Linked DNA regions of Homo sapiens: region 1 is linked to region 2. Evidence: promoter capture Hi-C in human tissues and cell types (Jung and others, 2019). All regions are on one chromosome and are shown on one strand. Each heading gives the region's core, a stretch centred on a gene start or on the middle of the fragment in contact. The rest is flanking DNA. Distances are from core to core; before and after follow the strand shown.

Evidence for each region. Contacts are between HindIII fragments. The study calls those that stand out against the background at their distance.
Region 1: a fragment that was not itself captured here is called in contact with the fragment with the promoter of UCMA in region 2 in 1 of the 25 tissues and cell types used here (mesenchymal stem cells).

What each region holds. Positions count from the first base shown.
Region 1 is chr10:13,174,563-13,179,379 of GRCh38, reverse strand. It overlaps MCM10 (minichromosome maintenance 10 replication initiation factor), which reads right to left. Exons shown (of 20, transcript NM_018518.5): 6 at 3,699-3,870. Among named protein-coding and RNA genes, the nearest start is that of MCM10, 15 kb to the right of the region's middle. The HindIII fragment of the contact is 4,349 bases long and covers 618-4,817 here.
Region 2 is chr10:13,232,527-13,237,041 of GRCh38, reverse strand. UCMA (upper zone of growth plate and cartilage matrix associated) reads left to right here and starts at 2,668. Exons shown (of 5, transcript NM_145314.3): 1 at 2,668-2,841; 2 at 3,242-3,307; 3 at 3,409-3,504. The coding sequence starts at 2,784. RefSeq lists an enhancer at 2,055-2,965. The HindIII fragment of the contact is 17,086 bases long and covers 1-4,515 here.

The DNA of each region.
Region 1 (4,817 bases), core at 1,543-4,042, 58 kb after region 2:
TGCCTGAACCCTGAAGGCCAGGTAGGGGGCCACAGCCATGGTGTCCAGCCAAGGAGCAGATGTCCCTAAGAACCCAACCATTCTGGAGCATATCTGGGAACACACCAAGAAAAGAGCCTCATCACACATACACAGTAGGCAAACAGCTTAGGGGAGTCCTAGCTAGAGCAATCAGATGAGAAAGAAATAAAGGGCATCCAAATTGGAAAAGAAAAAGTCAAATTATCCCTGTTTGCAGATGATAATGATCTTATATTTGGAAAAACCTGAAGACTCCACCAAAAAACTATTAGCACTGATAAATAAATTCAATAAAGTTGCAGGATACAAAATCAATATTCAAAAATCAGTAGCATTTCTAGATGCCAACAACGAACAATCTGAAAAAGAAATCAAGAAAGTAATCCCATTTACAACTGCTCCAAATAAAACACCTAGGAATACACTTAACCAAAGAAGTGAAAGATCTCTACAATAAAAACTAAAAGACATTGATGCAAGAAATTAAAGAGGATACCAAATATGGAAAAATAGCCTATGTTGATGGATTTAAAGAATCAATGTTGTTCAACTGTCCATACAATCCAAAGCAATCTAGAGCGTCAATGCAATCTCCATCAAAGTACCAATGACAGTCTTCACAGAAACAGAAAAAACAACCCTAAAGGTATATGGAATCACAAAAGACCCAAAATAGCCAAAGCAATCCCGAGCAAAAAGAACAAAACTGGAGGAATCAGATTACCTGACTTCAAATTATACGAAAGCTATAGTAACCAAAACAGCATGGTACTGGCATAGAGAAACCAGAAACGAATCCATAAATCTGCAATGAACTCATTTTCAACAAAGGTGCAAAGAACATACATTGGGGAAAGGACAGTCTCTTCAACAAATGGTGCAGGGAAAACTGGATATCCATATGCAGGAGAATGAAACTAGATCCCTATCTCTCGCCATATACAAAAATCAACTCAAAATGTATTCAAGAGGCTGGGCACCGTGGCTCACGCCTGTAATCCCAGCACTTTGGGAGGCCGAGGCAGGTGGATCACCTGAGGTCAGGAGTTTGAGACCAGCCTGGCCAGCATGGCGGTTTCTACTAAAAATACAAAAATTAGCCAGGCACTGTGGTGCGTGCTTGTAGTCTGAGCTACTCGGGAGGCTGAGAGGCAAGAGAATCACTTGAACTCGGGAGGCAGAGGTTGCAGTGAGCTGAGATCACGATACTGTACTACAGCCAGGGAACAGAGCAAGACTGTCTCAAAAAAAAGATTAAAGACTTAAATCTAAGACCCAAAGCTATGAGATTACTAAAAGAAAACATTGGGGAAACTCTCTAGGACATTGGTCTTGGCTAAGATTTGTTGAGTAGTAACACGAAAGCACAGGTAACCAAAGCAAAAATAGACAAATAAGCAGATCTCCCAAACAATCTTGCTGCCATCCAGGGGTGCCTTACATATAAGTCCGAGTCATTCTTTGGCTTTTGGATCCTTCTCAGTTCTGAGGAAACTTTTTTTTTTTTTTGAGATAGGGTCTTGCTCTGTTGTCCAGGATGGAGCGCAGTGGCACAATCTTGGCCCGCTGCAGCCTTGACTTCCCCACTCAGCCTACCAAGCAGCTGGAACTAGAGGCGCATGTCACCACACCGGGCTAAATTTTGTTTCTGTAGAGATGGGGTTTTGTCCTGTTGCCCAGGCTGGTCTCAAACTCCTGAGCTCAAGCAATCTGCCACCCTCAGCCTCCCTAAGTGCTGGGATTACAGGTGTAAGCCACCATGCCCAGCTAGGGAAAGGTTCTTCTATACAGCCCAGGGTTTTTTCTGTAACAATGAGTTAATAGATTAAAAAAAAAAAAAAAAAAAAAAAGCTCCAAAATCTAAAACTTTTGAGCACAAACATGACACTCAAAGGAAATACTGCAGCATTTCAGATTTGGGATTTTCAGATTTGGGATGCTTAACTAGCAAGTCTATTAAATGTAAATATTCCAGAATCCAAAATCCAAAACAGTTCTGGTCCCAAGCATTTTGGATAAGGGACCCTCGACCTGTGTCGGGGAATTTCTATTAATATGTCCTTTAGAGTATTTTTAAGGCCTGAGGTTCACATTTAACAATGACAAAGAGACCCAAACAATTCTGTGATCCCTTAAATTTAAAAGCCACTCAGAAGCTTTTGCTGAGTAGTTTAAGTCTCTTCTATCTCAATTCTGATTCACATGTGCAATAAATGCCCACCAGCAGCAACATGGTTCATTACCCATAGGGAGCTTCAAGTGGGCCATGGCTGGGGCAGGCAGTAGCATCTCAGGTGGGGGCAATTCTCTACCTTGAGAAGGAAGCCTGCAGCCCCCTCAATGAGAACCACAGCTTCTACTGCTGTATTCTGTTTCTTAGAGTCTGTCTCAGATGTAATTAAGATATAAATACATTCTTCAGTTTTGGAGAATACCAACTCTTTACAAGACACTTCTTGTTTGTGGAAACAAGGTCTTGTTCTGTTGCCCAGGCTGGAGTGCAGTGGTATGATCATAGCTCACTGCAGTCTTGAACTCCTGGGCTCAAGCGAACTTCCTGCCTCAGCACCCCCAGGTAGCTAGGACTACAGGTGCACACCACTGTGTCCAGCTAATTTACTTTTTGTAGAGATGAGGTCTCACTATGTTACCCCAGCTAGTCTCGAGCTCCTGACTTCAAGCAATCCTCCTGCCTTGGCCTCCCAAAGTGTTGGGATAGCAGGTGTGAGCTACCACGCCCAGCCTTATAATACACTTTTATTGTATGTTGGCAACACTTGTTCTCCTCTGCTAATAATATATACTTTAAGAGCTTAGCAGTTTTAGTTGTTGGCTGATATTTACACTGACAAGGTTTCAGAGTTTTAGAGGGTTTCACTTGGTTCCTCAAATGGACTGTGCTAAAAGCAATCCAGTCTCACAGTAAGGAGTACTGTTCTGCCCTGGGATTATCCAGATGTAATGATGGAGATGCAATGGAGTAGTGATACAGAGTATAGATAATTAAAAAAATTAAAATAAAGTTAGAAAAAAGTCCAAGATTTGAATATAGCTTTTAATTGGATTGAGCTTGGAATATATTCCTATTATAACAGGCTATCTTAAATGTATCCCTATAACAGATGCAAAGAATATAAATTTGCCTTAAAAAGACTATTAGAAAGAAAAACAGCATAGCTATTTTTCTTAACATCAACTACAAGAATCAATAGAAATAGAAAAAATGATCCTAAAATTTATACAGAACCGCAAAAGACCCAGAAGAGCCAAAGCAATCCAGTAATTGCTTAATTGCATAAATATTATCCTGGTTAAACTGTCTGTGTATTTAAAAAGTCTAAATTATACCTCAATAGAGATGGAGAAAAATTTTAAAAATCTACTATTTCCATCTGTCAATTTCTGATTAAATATACTATCATTTGTCCATTTCTTTTTATAGATACAGATTCTTTGTTGATTACATACACAAGAAAAAGTCTTTCTTAAACATTTTATATGCAACTGTACTTAGTCAAACCTAGGGCTACTGCTAGTCTTCCAGTGGTGTTTTGTCCAGTTCAAGAGCTGCTGGTGTTTTGTGGATCCTGATGTATAAACACACTACTTCTAAAGGACTCCGAGAGGCACAAAAAGCTATGCCGTGGCGCACATGAATAGATGGTTTAGCTACTGACCTGAGCCGCAGACCAGAGAAGGCTTCCACACAGATGGGTTGAGTCGTTTCCCCAGAACTTCCTGGGGTCCCCACAATTTGACCTCTAGTTATCCCACTAGGTTTGTTCCGAGAAATCGTCTGTAGGGGTTGGGAGGGTGCACTTGTCATCCTTGAAGATGAGCTTTTGGGATCTAGAAAATTAACACAATTAATGAAAAGGCAACCACACTGATAATCACGAACGGAATTTGGAAATTTGTTTTTACGGATTTGTTCCTTTGAGATAGGGACTCACTGTGTCACCCAGGCAGGAGTGCAATGGTGGCGTGATCTGGGATCACTGCAACCTCCATCTCCTGGGTTTAAGCGATTTCTGAGTAGCTGGGAACACAGGTATGTGCCACCATGCTCGGCTAATTTTTGTATTTTTTGTAGAGACGGGTTTTGCCATGTTGCCCAGGCTGGTCTCAAACCCCTGAGCCCAAGCAATCCACCCACCTAGGCCTCCCAAAGTGCTGGGATTACAGGCGTGAGACATTGCACACGCACACAGTCCGAACTGTTCCTTTTTTTTTTTGAGATGGAGTTTCACTCTTGTTGCCCAGAGTGCAGTGGTGCGATCTCAGCTCACCACAACCTCCGCCTCCAGGGTTCAAGCAATTCTCCTGCCTCAGCCTCCCAAGTAGCTGGGATTACAGGCATGCGCCACCACGTCCGGCTAATTTTGTATTTTTAGTAGGGATGGGGTTTCTCCATGTTGGTCAGGCTGGTCTCGAACTCCCGACCTCAGGTGATCCGCCTGCCTCAGCCTCCTAAAGTGCTGGGATTACAGGCATGAACCACCGCCCCCGGCCAGGATTGTCCCTTTTTTAAAGCAACACATGCAATAATCAAATCTTGGGAACAAAGCATGCCCCACAAGACCATTTCTTGGACTTACAGTCCAATAGAACTTTCTCTGATGATAATAATGTTGTACATTGGTGCTGTCCAATAGGGTGCTAGCTACCAGACACATGTGACCATCAGTCACTTAAATGTGACCCTGTGCTTTTAAGGAAATACATTTCTAACTAAATTTAATCTAATTTTAACTTAAATATCCACAGGTGGCTAGTGGCTACTGTACTAGATAGTT
Region 2 (4,515 bases), core at 1,419-3,918:
AGTGGACTTAGGGTATGGAGGATGTCACGGGTTTGTCACATGTCCGCTTTCTCACTGGACGTCCCATCAAAATCGCTCAGCCCTGTGTCTGTCCCTCCCCTCTCCCAGTGACATCCAGTTCATTTGATAGATGAGCCCTGTGGCTCTGTCCTCATGCATTCGTTCAGCCATGTAGAGCCCTTGCTCCCATGTTCAGTGCAGGCCAGCCAGTATCCCAGGGGAGCCCACGTAGGGCCAGCCAGCATAGCCATCAACCCCATTTTCTTCCACTGGAAACCAACCCTTTATTTTGTTTACTCTGTCTCAGTTATTTTTCTGCCTTAACATTCTTTTCCTGGACGACGGTAAAGTCCATGAGGGATGTAAACATGAAAGTCTTTCTTTTCTTTTCTTTCTTTTTTTTTTTTTTAGATGGAGTTTCGCTCTTGTTGACCAGGCTGGAGTGCAATGGTGCGATCTCAGCTCACCGCAACCTCCACCTCCCGGGTTCAAGCAATTCTCATGTTTCAGCCTCCTGAATAGCTGGGATTACTGGTGCCCACCACCACGCCCAGCTAATTGTTGTATTTTCAGTAGAGACAAGGTTTCACCATGTTGGCCAGGCTGGTCTTAAACTCCTGACCTCAGGTGATCCACCTACTTTGGCCTCCCAAACTGCTGGGATTACAGGCATGAGCCACTGCACCCGGCCTTTTTTTATTTTTTTGAGACAAAGTCTCGCTCTGTCACCCAGGCCGGAGTGCAGTTGCGCAATCTCGGCTCACTGCAACCTCTGCCTCCTGGGTCCAAGCGATTCTCCTGCCTCAGCCTCTTGAGTAACTGGGATTACAGGTTCATGCCACCACGCCTGGGTAATTTTTGTATTTTTAGTAGAGATGGGGTTTTGCCATATTGGCCAAGCTGGTCTAGAACTCCTGGCCTCAACTGATCCACCTACCTCAGCCTCCCAAAGTGCTGAGATTACAGGCATGAGCCACTGCGCCCGACTGAAAGTCTTTCTTTTTTTAAATAGACATGGGGGTCTCGCTATGTTGCCCAGGCTTATCTCCAACCCCTGGCCTCAAGTGAGCCTCCTGCCTCGGCCTCCCAAAGGGCTGGGATTTCAGGCTTGAGCCACTTTGCCTAGCTAACATAAAAGTCTTGTAAGAGGGGAGCTTCAGGTAGGTATGGGCTGGGTTCTAGGTCTAGTGATGGTTCCCATTAGACAAACATTAAACGATGCCAGAAGGCTGACAGCAAAGAGTTGATGGTTCCTAACAAAGGCAACATTAGGAACACATCTCCAAGGGGACTGAGCTCTAATGGCCATGTTGGTGCTGATTTCATTAGTGGTCCCATTTCTGGGAACCCATTTCCTCCCCTACATGGAGTATGATGTGTGTCTTCCTAGAGATGCAGGATTAGCTGTGGAGCTTTTCAGATACCTGCCCTTCTCCCCCTCCGCTGTGGAAGGTGATTGAATTTGGCCTTGCTGTTTTTAAATTTTTTTTTTTTTTTTTTTTTTGAGATGGAGTCTCGCTCTGTTACCCAGGCTGTAGTGCAGTGGTGCAATCTCGGCTCACTGCAAGATCTGCCTCCCGGGTTCACGCCATTCTCCTGCCTCAGCCTCTCTGAGTAGCTGGGACTACAGGTGCCCGCCACCACGCCCGGCTAATTTTTTTTGTATTTTTAGTAGAGACGAGATTTCACCGTGGTCTCGATCTCCTGACCTCATGATCCGCCCACCTCTGCCTCCCAAAGTGCTGGGATTACAAGCGTGAGCCACCGTGCCCGGCCGCTGTTTTTAACTTTTAAATTTTTATTTTATTTTATTTTATATGTATTTTTTTTTTGGGACTGAGTCTTGCTCTGTCACCCCAGCTGGAGTATAGTGGCGCGGTCTCGGCTCACTGCAACCTCTGCCTCCCGGGTTCAAGTGATTCTCCTGCCTCAGCCTCCTGAGTAGCTGGGATTACAGACGCCCGCCACCATGCCCGGCTAATTTGTTTATTTTTATTTTTAATAGAGACAGGGTTTCACCGTGTTGGCCAGGCTGGTCTCGAACTCCTAACCTCAGGTGATCTGCCTGCCTCGGCCTCCCAAAGTGCAGGGGTTCCAGGCATGAGCCACCGCGGGAAGGCAATTGACTTTAAAGGGCTCTGGGACCCGCGGCCCCAGGAGTTTGTGTTTGGCTTGGCAGTGAGCATCAGCTGGAAGCAGTGCATCAGGTAAGGTGTTCTCTGGTCGCTGTCAGCATGACCCACACGTCTGTGTGTCACCCTGATGGGTATTCCAGTCATTATGAGCCCTTCTTGACTGACATTTAGATCAAAACTCCCCCATTGATCCTCTCTTCCTCCTTGCCCCCACCCATGCTTCAACCCTGAGGACCGGGGCCCTAACGTCCCTGGAGCAGGTGCCAGGACCTCCTTGACACAGGCCTTGGTCACTGGAACCCTGACTGTTAGGATGAGCCTTCCCAGCAGCAGATCCCCAGACACGGACATTGGAAAGGCCACTCCAAGACCGTCCCACCCAGGGCCCTAACTACAAGCTCTGCTTCTGGAGACATTTGCCAGGTGCCAAAAACATCTCCGTTGCTCCATCTAGGAGCAGCCAATGGAAAGGGCAGCCCAGCCCCCTCCTCCTCTCCCCCAGTGGTATCCCAGCCTCCTGCCTCTCTCTTCCCTCCCCCGCCTTCCTTCCTCTCGCCTGGGCTGCCTGCCTCAGAAGTGGGGACCCAAAGGGTGCAGGACGCCTGGTCTGCCTTGTGGGTCCTGGACGGAGCCCCTACCTCTGCAAAGATGACTTGGAGACAGGCCGTCCTGCTGTCTTGCTTCTCCGCCGTGGTGCTCCTGTCTAGTGAGTACAGGAGGGTCAAGGTGGAGGGTGTTAGTTACATGGTAAGGGAGACTTACCATGCACAGGTAAGGCTGCTCAGGTGATGCAGGTAGAAAGGAGTATGCTTATTGTTAACATGTGTGTATGTGTGTGTCGTGTGCATGTAGGACACAATGCAATACAGAAAAATAATAATAATAATAAAAAACAGTAAAGAAAGAAACAAAATAGAAAAAAAACCCAAGCCAGCTTGCTTGGTGGGTTCCTGGGGAGATTGGCTCTGCAGCTGGTACGTGAGAAACCACGGGCCCCCTGCCAGGCCCTGGCAGGACGCTTAGCCTGGAAAGAGAGATGGGGACTCAGCTCAGGGTCTGGGCTCCCCTCTGATGCTGCAGCCTCACTCTGTGCCCTTGTCCTGCAGTGCTGAGAGAGGGAACCAGTGTATCTGTGGGCACCATGCAGATGGCGGGAGAAGAGGCGAGTGAAGGTGAGTGCAGGGGCCACCCACGGGGCAGGGCAGGTGCAGCCAGCGAAGCAGCAGCCCCAGCACCCCCACACTGCTGGTGACAGGCCTCTCCCGGGTTTCAGATGCAAAACAGAAGATTTTCATGCAGGAATCAGATGCCTCGAATTTCCTCAAGAGGCGCGGCAAGCGGTCCCCCAAGTCCAGAGATGAGGTCAATGGTAAGGATGCTGGAGGGACCCCATCCCGCGTCCATCACCACCTCTGCTCACACCCCCCGGCTCCTCCTCTCCCACAGTCAGCCGGGCAGCAGGATGCAGCTGGGCACGAAGGGCTCACCCCAGGGTATCAAAGGGACTGCAGCTCTGAATGAGAAATTACACCCTATTTCCTGACTGTAGGTCGTATATTGGATTGAATACTTTGTCAGGGTTAGGAGGCCCCACCTCTGCAAAGATGACTTGGAGACAGGTCCTCTTGTCCTGCTTCTTGGCCATGATGCTACATTAAACACACCTAACAGGGATAAGATGCATTGGATTTCAGAAAGGTGTAGGGAGGGAAATCTATATTCTGGTCTGGAGGCGACCCACACATCAGTGTGTGCTTTGCGGGTACTGGTCCAGCACACCTTCTGTATAAGAGCAACAGCATCGCACATGGGGAAGGCACAGGACACTGGGTGCTGAGAAATGTGGGTCTGGGGACAGCTGTGCTGCTAAGTGGCCTTGGCTACTTCCTCCCTCTGGTCCTAATTTCCTTATTTATAAGCCTCTGAAAGAGCTGTGTTCAGCCAGCAGAGGTTTTTTTTTTTTTAAGTTTTCATTTTCAACACATTGGGGTGAGCCTGTCTGTTGCACAGCCTGCTGTAGGGCCTGTGGAGCCCCGGCTTCAGGGTCCTCATGCCCTTCACCTGCCAACCCCTGAGGGCATTTGAGTTTCTACTCCTGAACCTGCTTCTTCCAAGATGCTGAGCTCAGACAGTATCTCCCGAGTCTCTGGCTTGAGTCTTTCCTCCTCGTGCCTGTGGGTGAATGAACTCTTTGTATTCTTCAGGGCACTCAGCAAGGTGACTTGCTTGGTAAAAATAACAGGACTGTTTTCAAATGATGGGAAGAACAGAGATAGAAATGCTTGGAGATGAAATTTCTTTTTTTAAAAAAAATTGAATAAGTATAACCGTGCTAGGAAAACCTCCAGGCCTCATACAACTGGAGATTTAAAAGTTGGCC